2 separate regions of the Homo sapiens genome follow, and region 2 is linked to region 1. The links are contacts of gene promoters, found by promoter capture Hi-C in blood cells and fetal thymus (Javierre and others, 2016). All regions are on one chromosome and are shown on one strand. The core of a region is centred on a gene start or on the middle of the fragment in contact, and the rest is flanking DNA. Distances in the headings are between cores, read along the strand shown. Region 1 holds the start of NGF-AS1 (NGF antisense RNA 1). Region 2 has its middle 140 kb from the start of VANGL1.

What was found. Contacts are between HindIII fragments. The CHiCAGO score rates a contact against its expected background, and 5 or more counts as called.
Region 2: a contact is called between a fragment that was not itself captured here and the fragment with the promoter of NGF-AS1 in region 1, in 2 of 17 cell types (M1 macrophages and M0 macrophages). The highest score is 5.4, in M1 macrophages.

Annotation. Positions count from the first base shown.
Region 1 is chr1:115,279,838-115,286,849 of GRCh38, reverse strand. NGF-AS1 (NGF antisense RNA 1) reads right to left here and starts at 3,816. Exons shown (of 2, transcript NR_157569.1): 1 at 3,610-3,816. It overlaps NGF (nerve growth factor), which reads left to right. Exons shown (of 3, transcript NM_002506.3): 3 at 43-933. The coding sequence starts at 55. The coding sequence ends at 780. The HindIII fragment of the contact is 8,535 bases long and covers 1-7,012 here.
Region 2 is chr1:115,498,340-115,505,549 of GRCh38, reverse strand. No RefSeq gene overlaps it. Among named protein-coding and RNA genes, the nearest start is that of VANGL1, 140 kb to the left of the region's middle. The HindIII fragment of the contact is 2,836 bases long and covers 1,071-3,906 here.

The DNA.
Region 1 (7,012 bases), core at 2,567-5,066:
TTAGTACTCCATGAAGTCACCCTCATTTCTTTTTCATTCCAGGTGCATAGCGTAATGTCCATGTTGTTCTACACTCTGATCACAGCTTTTCTGATCGGCATACAGGCGGAACCACACTCAGAGAGCAATGTCCCTGCAGGACACACCATCCCCCAAGCCCACTGGACTAAACTTCAGCATTCCCTTGACACTGCCCTTCGCAGAGCCCGCAGCGCCCCGGCAGCGGCGATAGCTGCACGCGTGGCGGGGCAGACCCGCAACATTACTGTGGACCCCAGGCTGTTTAAAAAGCGGCGACTCCGTTCACCCCGTGTGCTGTTTAGCACCCAGCCTCCCCGTGAAGCTGCAGACACTCAGGATCTGGACTTCGAGGTCGGTGGTGCTGCCCCCTTCAACAGGACTCACAGGAGCAAGCGGTCATCATCCCATCCCATCTTCCACAGGGGCGAATTCTCGGTGTGTGACAGTGTCAGCGTGTGGGTTGGGGATAAGACCACCGCCACAGACATCAAGGGCAAGGAGGTGATGGTGTTGGGAGAGGTGAACATTAACAACAGTGTATTCAAACAGTACTTTTTTGAGACCAAGTGCCGGGACCCAAATCCCGTTGACAGCGGGTGCCGGGGCATTGACTCAAAGCACTGGAACTCATATTGTACCACGACTCACACCTTTGTCAAGGCGCTGACCATGGATGGCAAGCAGGCTGCCTGGCGGTTTATCCGGATAGATACGGCCTGTGTGTGTGTGCTCAGCAGGAAGGCTGTGAGAAGAGCCTGACCTGCCGACACGCTCCCTCCCCCTGCCCCTTCTACACTCTCCTGGGCCCCTCCCTACCTCAACCTGTAAATTATTTTAAATTATAAGGACTGCATGGTAATTTATAGTTTATACAGTTTTAAAGAATCATTATTTATTAAATTTTTGGAAGCATCCTGTGTGCTGATGCTGGTTATTTTTTTTGAGTAAAATCATCTGCAAGTCTGAGGAAGATGCAGGGGGAATTGTCTGAAGCACCCCCTGGCTCCTTCTAAGGCCCACCTGTAACCCTTACCCCACCCCCAGCCAGTGCTGCAACTTCAGGAAAGGCTAACTGGTTTCAGATATTAGCCTAAGCCAGGCATGATTAGCAAAGGAAGCCTGCTGGATTGCAACTTTGTTCTACATTCCAGAGCCAAAGCTACCTAATCATTGGATTACCTGCCCACGGCCTGGAAGCATGGGCCCTGGTCTCCTCCCTTGGAGAAGTTAGTGGAGCCTCATCAGGAGGCAGATCACCACTGGGCATGGGGCTGCCCTGGCCTCAGAGGCACAGTCTCAGTCCTGGGGGCACTCGATAGACAGGAAGAGGCTTGTACCAAAGATCTGTGAGCTGCTCATTTGTAGAGGGAGATGTGCTGTCTGGAAGAGTTGTAACAGAGTAATCTCACGAGGCCTGTCAAAGTAGATCTGGTTTCATGTTCAGCTGGCCTTAGTACTCGTTTTATCCCTCAGCAGCCTCCTGCAGAAAGACTTCATTACCCCAAGAAAACATTAGTGCCTCCGACACTCTTGCAACCCACTAACAGCCACAGTAGCAACTTCCAGGGGCCCCACCATCAGCCCACAGCCAGGGAAGCCAGAGACGGGAGAGAACTTCTGAAAATATTTTTATTCTTAATTGGATGATTTCCATAAGTGACCAAAGGTGACTGGGGCCGTGGGACCTGCAGAGAAGAGGGTGGGGCAGAAAGACTAAGTAAATGGAGTAAGAACCAAATAAACCTGGAGATGTGGAGGACAGGTGGGCCGGCAGGAAACCACGGCTTTCTGCTTCTCCCAAACAGGGGAAATGAAACAAGGATGACAAAGAGAAGGCCAGAGGTGGATGTGAAGAAGGGGAGGGGAGGACAGAGCAGGAGGAGGAGGGAGGTGTGATCTCTCATCTTTACCAGCACTCTCCAGCCTCCAGGAAAGTTAGCAACCTGGGTGGTTCTTGTGGGGCTTTTTGGATGTGCTAATAAACACTGACTCCATCCAGAGCATCTTAGGAGTGAAGGTGACAGAGGGACTCCAGGGTTCAGCCTGCAGCAGGGCTCCACCCAGCCTCACACGACCCCCTTCCCCTGCAACTTTCATTTTGTATTTTCCTTGAAGCCACAATATTCCCCCAGACAGAGCACTTATATTAAGACAGAAAATTTCCCCTCCTATCCATCCTGTCTCCCCCCGAGGATGAAATGCCTACACTGGTTTTCAAGAGAACAGGCCCAAATTGTCCATCCGAGAAAAGAGCAAATGGTCTTATTCATTCCCTCTGTAATTCTCGCTGTCCGGCCCCACCTCCAACGCCATCCAAATAGGGCAAATTAGAAACGTAGGGAGCTTTGGCATGAGAGCCATTTGATTAGGGTAGAAGTATGATGAAATGTGCCCTGTTTTTTCTATCAGAGCCACTGCAATTGGAATAAAGGTTTATGCTCAAGAAACACCAGCTAGAACATTCTGTGCTGAGATTCTAAGTGAGATAAAGGCCTCAGGGAGGAGCCCTCCCAGTGATCTGTGTCTGTGACTTTTACTGGGGTCCAATGCCAGTGGTCTCAGCCGTCCTAGGTGCCCCTACAAAGTTTCTGGGTGGCTTTTTTTCTCTTAGGACTGGACTTTGGGCCTGGGATGTGGGGAGAGGAGTGGAGAGGGAGGCCTTCAGGAAGCTCCCCATCAGGAAGGTTGGCTTGTGAGCAGCTACACCAACAAAGAGGGTCCTGGAGTGCTGCCCGCGGCACTGCAAGACACTGGGACATCTAAAAAATGTCTTTGGCTCCCCTGGGCAGCCGAGAGGGAGGACCGTCTGAGGGAGCACGAAGGCTGAGGCCCTCACTTCCATGTGGGCTGCTCTCCTGCGTGTCCGGTAAGAGGAGGGCCCCTCATCCCAGGAACACCACCACCTTCCCAAAGGCAAAATCTGCTCTAGGCGGAAACACTGGAGTCCCAGCGTGGGAGCCAATGTTTTCACACAATATAAGGGATATCAGTTTGGCTGATCGGCGTCGGAGCCTTCCAAAAACAACCCCGCGCCCGGTGGTTTCCGCAGCTTGGGCTCTGCTCCCACACACGGAGGGGAGCCCTGGCTTTCAGACCCACCCGGGCTGCCCCAGAAAGGCTGACCGGGGTCGCCAGGGCCCCAGCCACTTGAACACCAAGAAAACAGCTTCAAACCGCCCACTATACTCTGCTGAGGAGCGGCAGCAGCACATTTTGCAAAATTTTCCTTCCTGTGCCTCACTGAGATTTTTCTGCCTGGGTTCCCCAAAAGCCCAAAAGGTGAGAGCAGATCTGACTCCTCTCGGCAACTTCGTTTGGTGGAAGGCGTCCTCCACCACGCCCAAGAAAACTAGCGCCGGCCCTGGCTGTCCGCCCTCCTAGCAAGGCTCAGGCCCCGGCCTGGGAGACCGCAGGGTGCCTGACTCTGGGGTACACTCAGTTGTCCCTCTGACGCCCTCCAGCAACCAGAGCGCCAGCCTGACCCCTTCCCTGCTAATAGAAAGCCCACCATGGGGACAGAGTTTCAGCAACAACCCAGCAGCTATTTTCATTTCCGTGAATCAGGAGTGTTCCTCCTAAAAGCCTTACCACTTTCTCCTCAGCATCATCCACATCATGGGAGGAGGATCCGCCCAGAGCTGGAATAGAGGACAAAAGGGCACCCGGGTCTCGTGTCCGCCCTGTCCGCTCCTTGGAGGAGAGACAGCTGGGCAAGAGAAGCGGAGCCGAGTGGAAGTGTGGGCTATGGAGAACCCAGGGGCCTGGGAGTCTTTCTCGCACAGGCCTGAACGGAACAGTGGGAGGCAACGGGTGCTCAGAGTTGAGGTCATCAGCCAAACCCAGCTCCGAGGGAGCAGCCCAGTGTCATGGTACAAACTCTGGGCTTGGTGTCAGCAGAGCTGGGTTCTGGCCCCAGCTCCCCCATTTCTATCTGTGAAACTTTGGCAAGCAGCAGTTCCTCTTTGAGCTTGGTTCTTGCAGCTGTGAAATGAAAATAATCATTCCTATATCCCAGAGTTGTGAGCATGAAGCAAAACCAAGTATTTGAAAGCAAACAGTCCAGTCCTATGCAAGTGTTAGGAAAAGTAATTTATTCCAAACTTAACCATTCCTGTGTTGATTATAGGAGAGAAGCAACTATGTTGGTGCTCACTAAATGTTTGTTTATTGGCACATGTATGGATTGGATAAGGGAAACCCTCTGGTCAGTGGACATCATGGAATATAGATGTGGCATAGCCAGGCCATGATAGATAGATAGATAGACAGATAGATAGATGATTGATAGATAGATAGATAGATAGATAGATAGATAGATAGATAGATAGATAGATCAGGCATAGCCTGCTTTTACCAGGAGGTTAAAAGCAAGAATGGCAGCTATTCAGCTTCAGATGCCTGAATCCGGGTTCAGATAGGCCACCTGGATTCTAGTGATTCCAGCATAATGGTAGGCTTTGGAGTCAAACAAGTACTTCTGCTAAGGCTGTGTAACCTTAAGCAAGTTGCTTAACATCTCTGACAATGATATATGGAAACTCTGACGATTTCTTCATCTGTGAAATATGGATGATAATAGTGCTTTTCTCAGAGGGCTGAGAGATCATTTAATGAGATAATACACATAAATATACAAAACTACCTAGCACTTAAGAAGTGTATAATAAATTTTCGTTTTGAAAGGTAGATTAGCTGAGAACCCCTAAAAGGATGTTGGAATAGTGGAACAACTTTCCACAAGGCAAGGAAGATTATGGACAGTTTTATAGATGTATCCTAGGTTTATTCCATGACAAGCAATGCTAATAGTGACCTTAGCGTTTATTAAGAGCTTGGTATGTTCAAGGCATCGCACTAAGCACTTTATGTGGTTTAGCTCAGGTAAGCCTCTGGGTTCTAAGACAAAAGACTATCTTAAGGCAAGTGTCGGGGAAGGCTGTGCTTTCTGCTTATGTGTATCAATGCCAGAGAAGTGCTCCACAGTTCCCTGGGATGTGTTTACTCCCCCAGCTCTTGGTAAGTTTATAAACCATTGGCTCTGAAAGTTTCCATGTGTCAAGCACGTGGGATCTGTTTTGCTCTAATTCACTTGGGTTTGCAACTGAAAAGCTGTTACCTTCCCAAAGTTCACCTGGGTGTGTGAAGATGGCTCAGGGGGTCCAGCGCCAAGAGTAAGTTGGGCAAATCTTCCCTCCACCACAGCAGCCTGCAGAGAATCCCTCCAACCCAGGGATGCTCCTTAAAGTCAAGGATGCAGCACATCTGTGTTTCTTCAGCACCTGGACCCAATCTTGCATGTGGCAGGCAATCAATGTCCTAAGGAAGGGAAGACAGAACTTAGTTTCCATCTTTTTCTCCATCCCCACCATCCACAGCCTATCTCCTCCTATCCCCGCACCTACCTTGTGTTAGCCATAAATGCGTTAATGGTCTCAGTTGAAAACAGGGTCCTCCCTGAGGCATGTGACACATCTGGGTAATTTTCAGAGGCTGGTATCAAGAGCAAGATCAGACCATCAGGGATAAAGCCTGGCCTCACCCATAGCTTGGCTGAGTGACACTGGACAAATTACTTCTCTCTCTGCACTGCAGTTTTCTTACATGTAAAATGTAGGTGAAAATAAGAGAACCTACTTCATTGTATTGTAAGGCATTTGGTCCAATGTTTGGTACATAATAAATCATTGTATATGAAACATATGTAAATATACAGTACACACAGCTACATATACATATATGCACAGAAATAGACACAATATACAAACATACACACACAAGGATAGTGTGTGTGCTTATGTGTGTGTGTATATGTGTGAATAACCCCTGGAAGCTAAGAAGCAGCCAAGAAGTGCACATTCTACACTCACATGCACCCACCCACTGACTTAAAAGCACAGTGCAACATACAAATCCATCCAATAAACATTCTAAACAATGGCTACAGTAGTAAGAAGTAATCCAATGGAAAGAGTAAGCCAGGAAAGACTTCCTGGAGGAAACGATTTTGAACTACGTGCGGAAAATAAGTTGAGTGAAATTATTGTCCTGTGCTGAGACTTACTCCAGAATTATGAACAAGGTAAAATCCAACCAAGAGGCTGCCCAGCCCCAATGGGAGAGAGACCGCTAATAGAATTGAGAGTCTCTGTCTGTTCTCTCACTTCATTCTGAGCTACAACTGGCAGAGGAGTTAGTTTCTCCTGCAATTACAGACCTTAGAAGAATTCAGAGAATAACCCTGTGAAATCCTGTAGGAAGACACAGTTAAAGTCCCCATATGGTTTTCACAAAATCTTGTCTCTGTTAAGACCAAACACCAAAGAGCTGGTCAAATATCTTCCTGAAGATGGGGCCTCCTCCAGCCATATCAGCTGGGTTTCCTCGATCCCCAAAACAAGAAGAAAAAAAAGGCTCTCAGAGTACGTACCATGCACCCCTGGCTCCAGGGGGAGACTTGGGTTGGAGAGGCCAGCCCGGCGCCTTGGCTAACGTTTGGTGCCACAGCTAAGTGCAGCCTCCAGCTTAGCGGCCTCTCCCCTTTATCTCGCCCCCACCATTCCTTTCACTTTGACATAATGAAAGTGCAACTTGCACACTGTCTCGAGATTGCATATGATAATTGGAAACATGTGTCTGAGCTGGCATCCCTTCAAAGGGCTTTGGAACTCTGACTTGGGCTGTCTTCTGATTGCAATAGCAATCCCCCAAACTGGCTCTCCAGTCTTCACATTCCTTCAGCTGCACCTTAGTGTTAACTCTTGCCAGGAGAAGGCTGTTGCAAGCAGAGCTCATTCCTGAGGGTCTGCAGAGGCTGGCAATAACGGTTTCCCGAGTGCACAGCAAGGCTCTGGGCTTGGCATCTGGGCACTGACTTTTCAGACAATAACAGCAAGAAACAGCAGGTCCATTTTCCTTTTTGCAGAAATGGCACATTGACGAGTTGACACCCAGGCAGAGGCCTGGGTCTTTTGGGGCATTGCTTGGACTCTCA
Region 2 (7,210 bases), core at 1,239-3,738, 220 kb before region 1:
TCCAAGTGAGTTAGTATCTGACTGTCAGGGCATGCATAGGCAAAAATCCTTGAGTCAAGCAGCTGTGACCCATGAATAGGAGGCCCTCAAAATCCATTTGGCTAGAGTGCTAAGACCAAGCAAGAAAACACTTAACTTTAAGTGTCAGTGCTATTGCAACCTCAATGAGATTTTATCTGTGGAGTGAATGATTAGGGGAGACCAAATTTATTGTCATCCAGAGGAAGTATTTATAAACTTGGCAGAGCCACATGTGAGAGTAGAACAAAGGCTGCCAAAGAGGTTCATAAATTGAGATGAATGATCTGCAAGTATTTTCCATTGCCTACATATGGTTATATATACACTGTGTGGCTCAAGCTCAGGATTGAATTGCCTCACACAAATGCTGATGCTGTCTTCTTTGTGGATATGGGATGGGGTGGGGAGATTGAATCAATGTCAGAGTTAGAATTGGAATGGAGAAGAAAGGATGCTTTGAAGAAGAAGCTGCATAGTTGGGGAGGAATGGAAAAAAGTGGAAGACTGCAATGAGGAGAGGTTGCTGTGGGGGCAGAAGATCCTTCATGGTAAGTTGCATGAAGGGTAAGAAAAGCCACAAGGGTTAGGTTAGAGGTAAAGTTGCAAGAGGAGATATAATTGATGTGAGGAATGACACCAAGGAAAGAAGAAGAGCAAGAAAAAAGGGAAAGGATTTAGTAGAGTGAAGAATACTCTTCGCCAGTAAGGTAAATGGGCCAAACCTGGACCACAGCCTGATTTTGCTAATAAAGTTTTATTGCAACAGTGATGCTTATTTGTTTAGTAATTGTTTGTGGTTGTTTTCATGATGCAGTGGCAGAGTTGTGCTAATTATAACAGAGACCATATCTCCCAAAGCCTAAAATATTTACTATCTGGCCCTTTATGAGAAAACTTTGCTGAGCCCTGGCCTTGATTATGGGATGTACACTCCTCTCTGCCACTCAAATGTTACTGCTCTCTGCCAAAGTTTATTTGTATTAATGGCAAAGCCTGATTCTACTCTACATGACATCTATTTGTATTTATTTTGTATAGGCTTTAAAGCTTCACCCTAGGTTACTCTTGGGAAAATGAAGTTATAAGGTATGCCATTGTTTTAGTTCATTCTCATGCTGCTATGAAGAAATACCTGAGACTGGGTAACTTATAAAGGAAAGAGGTTTAATTGACTCACAATTCCATATGGCTGAGGAGGCCTCAGAAAACTTACAATCGTGGTGGAAGGCACTTCTCCACAGGGTGGCAGGGGAGAGAATGTGTATCCAGCGAAGGGGGAAGCCCTTATAAAACCATCAGATCTCATAAGAACTAACTCACTACCACAAGAATGGGATGAGGGAAACTGCCCCCATGATTCAATTATCTCCACCTGATGCCTCCCACAACACGTGGTGATTATGGAAACTACAAGATGATTTGGGTGGGGACACATCCAAACCATATCATTCTGCCTTTGGCCCCTCCTAAATCTCATGTCCTCACAGCTCAAAACATAATCATGCCCTTCTAACAGTCCCCCAAAGTCTTAACTCATTCCAGCATTAACTGAAAAGTCCAAGTTCAAAGTCTCATCTGAGACAAGGCAAGTCCCTTCAACCTATGAGGCTGTAAAATCAAAAGCAAGCTAGTTACTTCCTAGATACAATGGGGTACAGGCATTTGGTAAATACATCCATTCCAAAGAGAAATTGGCCAAAACAAAGGGGCTACAGGCCCCATGCAAGTCTGAAATCCAATAGTGCAGTCATTAAACCTTAAAGTTCCAAAAGGATCTCTTCTGATTCCATGTCTCACATCCAGGGCACACTGTTGCAAGATATGGGCTCCCACAACCTTAGGCAGCTGTGCCACTGTGGCTTTTCAGGGTACAGTCCCCTGCCTGGCTGCTTTCACAGGCTGGCATTGAATGTCTGCAGCTTTTCTAGGCACATGATGCAAGCTGTCAGTGGATCTACCATTCTGGGGTCTGGAGGATGGTGGCCCTCTTCTCACAGCTCCACTAGGCAGTGCCCCAGTGGAGACTTTGTGTGGGGGCTCCAACCCCACGTTTCCCTTCCACACTGTCCTAGCAGAGGTTCTCCATGAGGGCTCCACCCATGCAGCAAACTTCTGTGTGGACATCTAGGCCTCTCCATACATCCTCTGAAATCTAGGCAGAGGTTCCCAAACCTCAATTCTTGATTTCTGTGCACCTGCAGGCCCAACACCACATGGAAGTTGCCAAGGCTTGGGGCTTGCACCCTCTGAAGCAATGGCTTCAGCTGTACATTGGCCCCTTTTAGCCATGGCTAGAGTGGCTAGGATGCAAGGCACCAAGTCCCAATGCTGCACGCAGCAGAGGGTCCTGGACTCGGCCCAGGAAACCATTTTTCCTTCCTAGGCCTTGGGGCCTGTAATAGGGGAAGCTGTCATGAAAGTCTCTGAAATGCCCTGGAGATGTTTTCCCCATTATCTTAGTGATTAACATCTGGTTCCTCATCACTTATGCAAATTTCTGCAGCCAGCTTGTATTCCCCCCAGTAAATGGGTTTTTCTCTTCTGCCACATTGTCAGGCTGCAAATTTTCCAAATTTTTATGCTTTGCTTCCTCTCGAATGCGTTTCTGCTTAGAAATTTCTTTCACCAGATGCCCTAAATCATCTATCTCAAGTTCAATGTCCCGCAGATCTATGGGGAAGGGGCAAAATGCCACCAGTCTCTTTGCATAGCAAGAGTGACCTTTACTCCAGTTCCCAACAAGTTCCTCATCTCCATCTGAGACCGCCTCAGCCTGGACTTCATTGTCCATATCACTATCAACATTTTGGTCAAAGGTATTCAACAAGTCTCTAGGAAGTTCCAAACTTTCCCACATCTTTCTGTCTTCTTCTGAGCCCTCCAAACTGTTCCATCTTCTGCCTGTTACCCAGTTCTAAAGTTGCTTCCATATTTTCAGGTATCTTTGCAGCAGTACCCCACTACCCAGTAGCAATTTACTGTATTAGTCTGTTCTCACGCTGCTATGAAGAAATACCTGAGACTGGGTAATTTATAAAGGAAGGAGGTTTAATTGGCTTACAGTTCTGCATGGCTGAGGAGGCCTCAGGAAACTTACAATCACAGTAGAAGGCACCTCTTCACAGGGTAGCAGGGGAGAGAATGAGTGTCTGGTGAAGGGGGAAGCCCCTTATAAAACCATCAGATCTTGTGAGAACTAACTGACTATCATAAAAACAGCGTGGGGGAAACTGCCCCCATGATTCAATTATCTTCAGCTGATCCTTCCTACGACACATGGGGATTATGGGAACTACAATTCAAGATGAGATTTGGGTGAGGACATGGTAAAACCGTATCAGCCATAAATAACAGGAGTTGCACATGCAGAGGGAGAATGCCTTGTGGAGACTGGCGATGCTTGTAGAAGGCAAGGATTACTGAAGGTTAACAGCAAACCACCAAAAGCTAGGGGAAAGGCATGGAACAGGTTCTTTCCCTCAGAGCCCTCAGAAGGAACCAACCCTAACACCACCTTGGTCTCATACTTCTGGTCTTCAGACTTGGAGGCAATACATCTTTTGTTTAAGCCACTCAGTTTCTGATACTTTGTTACAGCAGCCCCAGGAAACTAACAAACACAGACTCACAGTCCCAGGTAGACTTTCTTTGCTGGCACTGACCATCTCCCAATGGACCACCTTCTTTCCCATGTGGACACTAACATCCTTGACGTGTTCTTCAGCCCAGACATCATGAGCTCACAGAAGTCTACACAGCTTTGCCTTCTTCCTCTCAGAAAACCTCAACTTGACTGGTGAGCCTTCTAGTGACTGGCCTTCAGCTCTAGGATTGCCTGTTTCCAACAGTTCTTCCTTCCACCAAACCCCAGAACAGTCACAAGCTTCCTTTTCTATGCCATCATGCAGAACAAACAAACCACAAATGCTTTATCATCTTTCTACAAACTAATCTTTAGTTATCAGCCTACTCTGCAAATGCCCTATTGTATAGAGGCATGGTTGCCAACATGAGGGTCCTGGGTCCCCAGTGGGCCAGGAATTATAGCCACTGACTTACAAAACTATTTGTGCATCAAACTTCGTTTGGCTTAGTGCGTTTTAAAAAAGTGCTGTATTTCTACTACCATCAGATCATGACAACATTTTTATCCTCAAATATTAAAAATTCAAGTAATAGTTTACATATTGGTTTATGAAGTTGTTTGACATTTAAAAAGGAGGTCCTTATATGTAAGTGAAGCCTGTGTTTTAAATAAATTTTCCCCTTTAAAATTATTGATCCTCCCATATTTGTGTGATGAATATTCTAAACATGTATAGGGTTACTCTACTGGGTCCTAGGACAAGAAAGGAACAGACACACACTGTGTTCTCAGTAGCTCTCAGCCTAGTGGGAAAGGCAGAGAAGAAAAGCAAGGATGAACTACAGAGAAGCCAGGACCATAGTAGAAGCATGTGGGTGGGAGAACAGAGGTGGATGCTCAGCACAAAATGGTGATGTGAATACAAAGAGTTGGAACAAGCTCTTAGAGTCGTGTGTGTTTGAGTTGTGAATGAGAGCTAGTCTGATAGTAGAACAAGGGCTTTCCAGAAAGAAGAGTTCATATTTTGTGAACACCTGCTATATTCCGGAATCATGCCAAATATACATTTATGCCTTCACTGTGACCTTCTAAGACAGGTACTTTACATTCTGAGACAAGTTATTTACAATTTTTTATTGTGCTAAAATATGCATAGCATAACATTTACAATTTTAATCACTTTTAAGTGTATGGTTCAGTGACATTAAGTGCATTGCCACTGCTGTACAAATAGTTCTACCATCTACCTCCAGAACTTTTTCATCTCCCCAACTGAAACAATGTTCCCATTAAACAATAACTCTACATTCGTCCCTTCCCCCAGCCCTGACAACAACTTTTCTACTTTTGGTATTTACGAATTTTACTACTCTAGGTGCCTTATTTACCTGGAATCATGTAATAGTTGCCCTTTTGTGACTGGCTTATTAACTTTGCATAATATCTTCAAGGTTCATCTATGTTCTAGCATATGTTATAATTTTTTTTCTTTTTTTAAGGCAAATAGTATTCCATTGCATGTATGTCCCACATTTCATTTATCCACTAATCCAGGGGTCCCCAACTTCCTGGGCCACAGACCAGTACTAGTCCATGGCCTGTTAGGAACCAGGCTGCACAGCAGGGTGTGAGTGGTGAAGCTTCATGTGTATTTATAGCCACTTCCCATTGCTCACATTACTGCCTGAGCTCCTCCTACTATCAGATCAGCAGTGGTATTAGATTCTCATAGAAGTGCGAACGTTATTGTGAACTGCACATGCGAGGGATCTAGGTTGCATGCTCCTTATGAGAATCTAATGCCTGCTGATCTGTCACTGTCTCCCATCACTCCCAGATGGGACCATCTAGTGGCAAGAAAAGCTCAGAACTCCCACTGATTCTAGATCATGGTGAGTTGTATAATTATTTCAATATATATTACAATGTAATAATAATAGAAATAAAGTGTGCAATAAACGTAATGTGCTGGAATCATTCTGAAACCACCCACCCCCACCTGCCCCTGGCCCATGAAAAAATTGTCTTCCATGAGACCTGTCCCTGGTGCCTAAAAGGTTGGGGACCACTGCACTAATCCATCCATTGATGATCATTTGGTTGCTTCTACCTTTTGGCTATCATGAATAATGCTTCTCTAAACATGAATGTACAAATACCCTTTCAAGTCTCTACTTTCAGTTCTTTTTTGGTTTATATCCAGAAGTGAAATTATTGGATCATATAATAATTCTGAGATTACTTAGGAAAATCTGAGCACAGCTTTTTAATTCTTTGAGGAACCATCATATTGTTTTTTACAGTAGCTTGCAGTGTACATTCATACCAGCAACACACAAAAGTTTCCATTTCTCCACATCCTCGCAAACATTTGTTATTTTCTTTTCTTTCTTTTTTTTTAAATAATAGCCATCCTAATGTGTGTGAAGAGGTATCTCATTGTGGTGAGATAGGTACTGTTATCTGCACTTTTTCAGATGAGGAAACAAAAGTTTGGAAACTTGCCAAATGTTCTATGGCCAATTAAAGGCAGAATCAGGATTTAAACCAGAGCCCATCCTATCCTGCGCTGTGTTCTGAAGCACTACTGAGGCTGCCCATTAAAGAACTTGGGGAAAGTAGAGGGATGGATAGGTGGGGGTGTGAATGAAGATGGGGCTGTAAGAGTATGCAGGGGCCAAATCATAAAGACCTTTGTGTTTTTTTCCTAGAGAAAGTTTCAGTTCTTATAAATAGCTTGCAAGCATAAAATGTATATAGTAATTATATTAACCCAAGGATAAAGAAAAGGAAACATGAGATGAGTCCCTAAAAACTCCATTTCTCAGAAATGTAATCAGAATAGCTGTAGGTTAAGGCCTAATGTAAGAAATAACTTATTTTTCCATCAAAGCACAACTGAAAATAACCAAGAATAATATGATGTTGGCTTCACATTTTTCCATTTGTATTGAGCAAGGATATTTTGGGGCATCTTATGGAAAATATAACTTCAAGGGTTAAGAGAGCATTCATCAGGCATCTCAGCAAATTGTGAGCCAACATATGAGGAATCTGTGCATGTGCAAGGCTAAGTCCCCAGCACACAGTCCTGGCTGAGTGACCCAGAGGAAGGAAAGGCCATACTGTACAGTCTTGGGGTTCAGACTGTCCAGGCATGTTCAGAGAGTGAGCACTGAGGGGTGAGGGAGGAAAAAGGGATCTCTGCTTTTGAGGGGCTGAGGCAGAATCTTAGAGGATGGAACACATGGAAAGAAGATGCTGAGGTCCTGGAGCCCAAGGACAAGGAGGCTTCAGCAGAGTGAGGCTGCTCCTGAGAACAGCAAGGCTGTGTGCTCTCACACCGACCTCCAGCTGGCCACCCACTCCTGTCTCTGCCCACTCCCCCAGGGAATTTACCAGAGCCTGGAGGAGTGACCATGAGGAGGTCGTGCTTTATGGCCTAGTAATGGAGGGTAACCAGGTTGGGCAGGGGTCTGTTCACAAGTATAGCCCAGCAGTGGTGGTCAGAGACATGCCAGCAATGACACGGGAGACCAAGGATGGTCAAGCTAAGCAGTACAGAGGCCTGCGGTGCCCCAGGTGCTGACACACTGGTCCAGA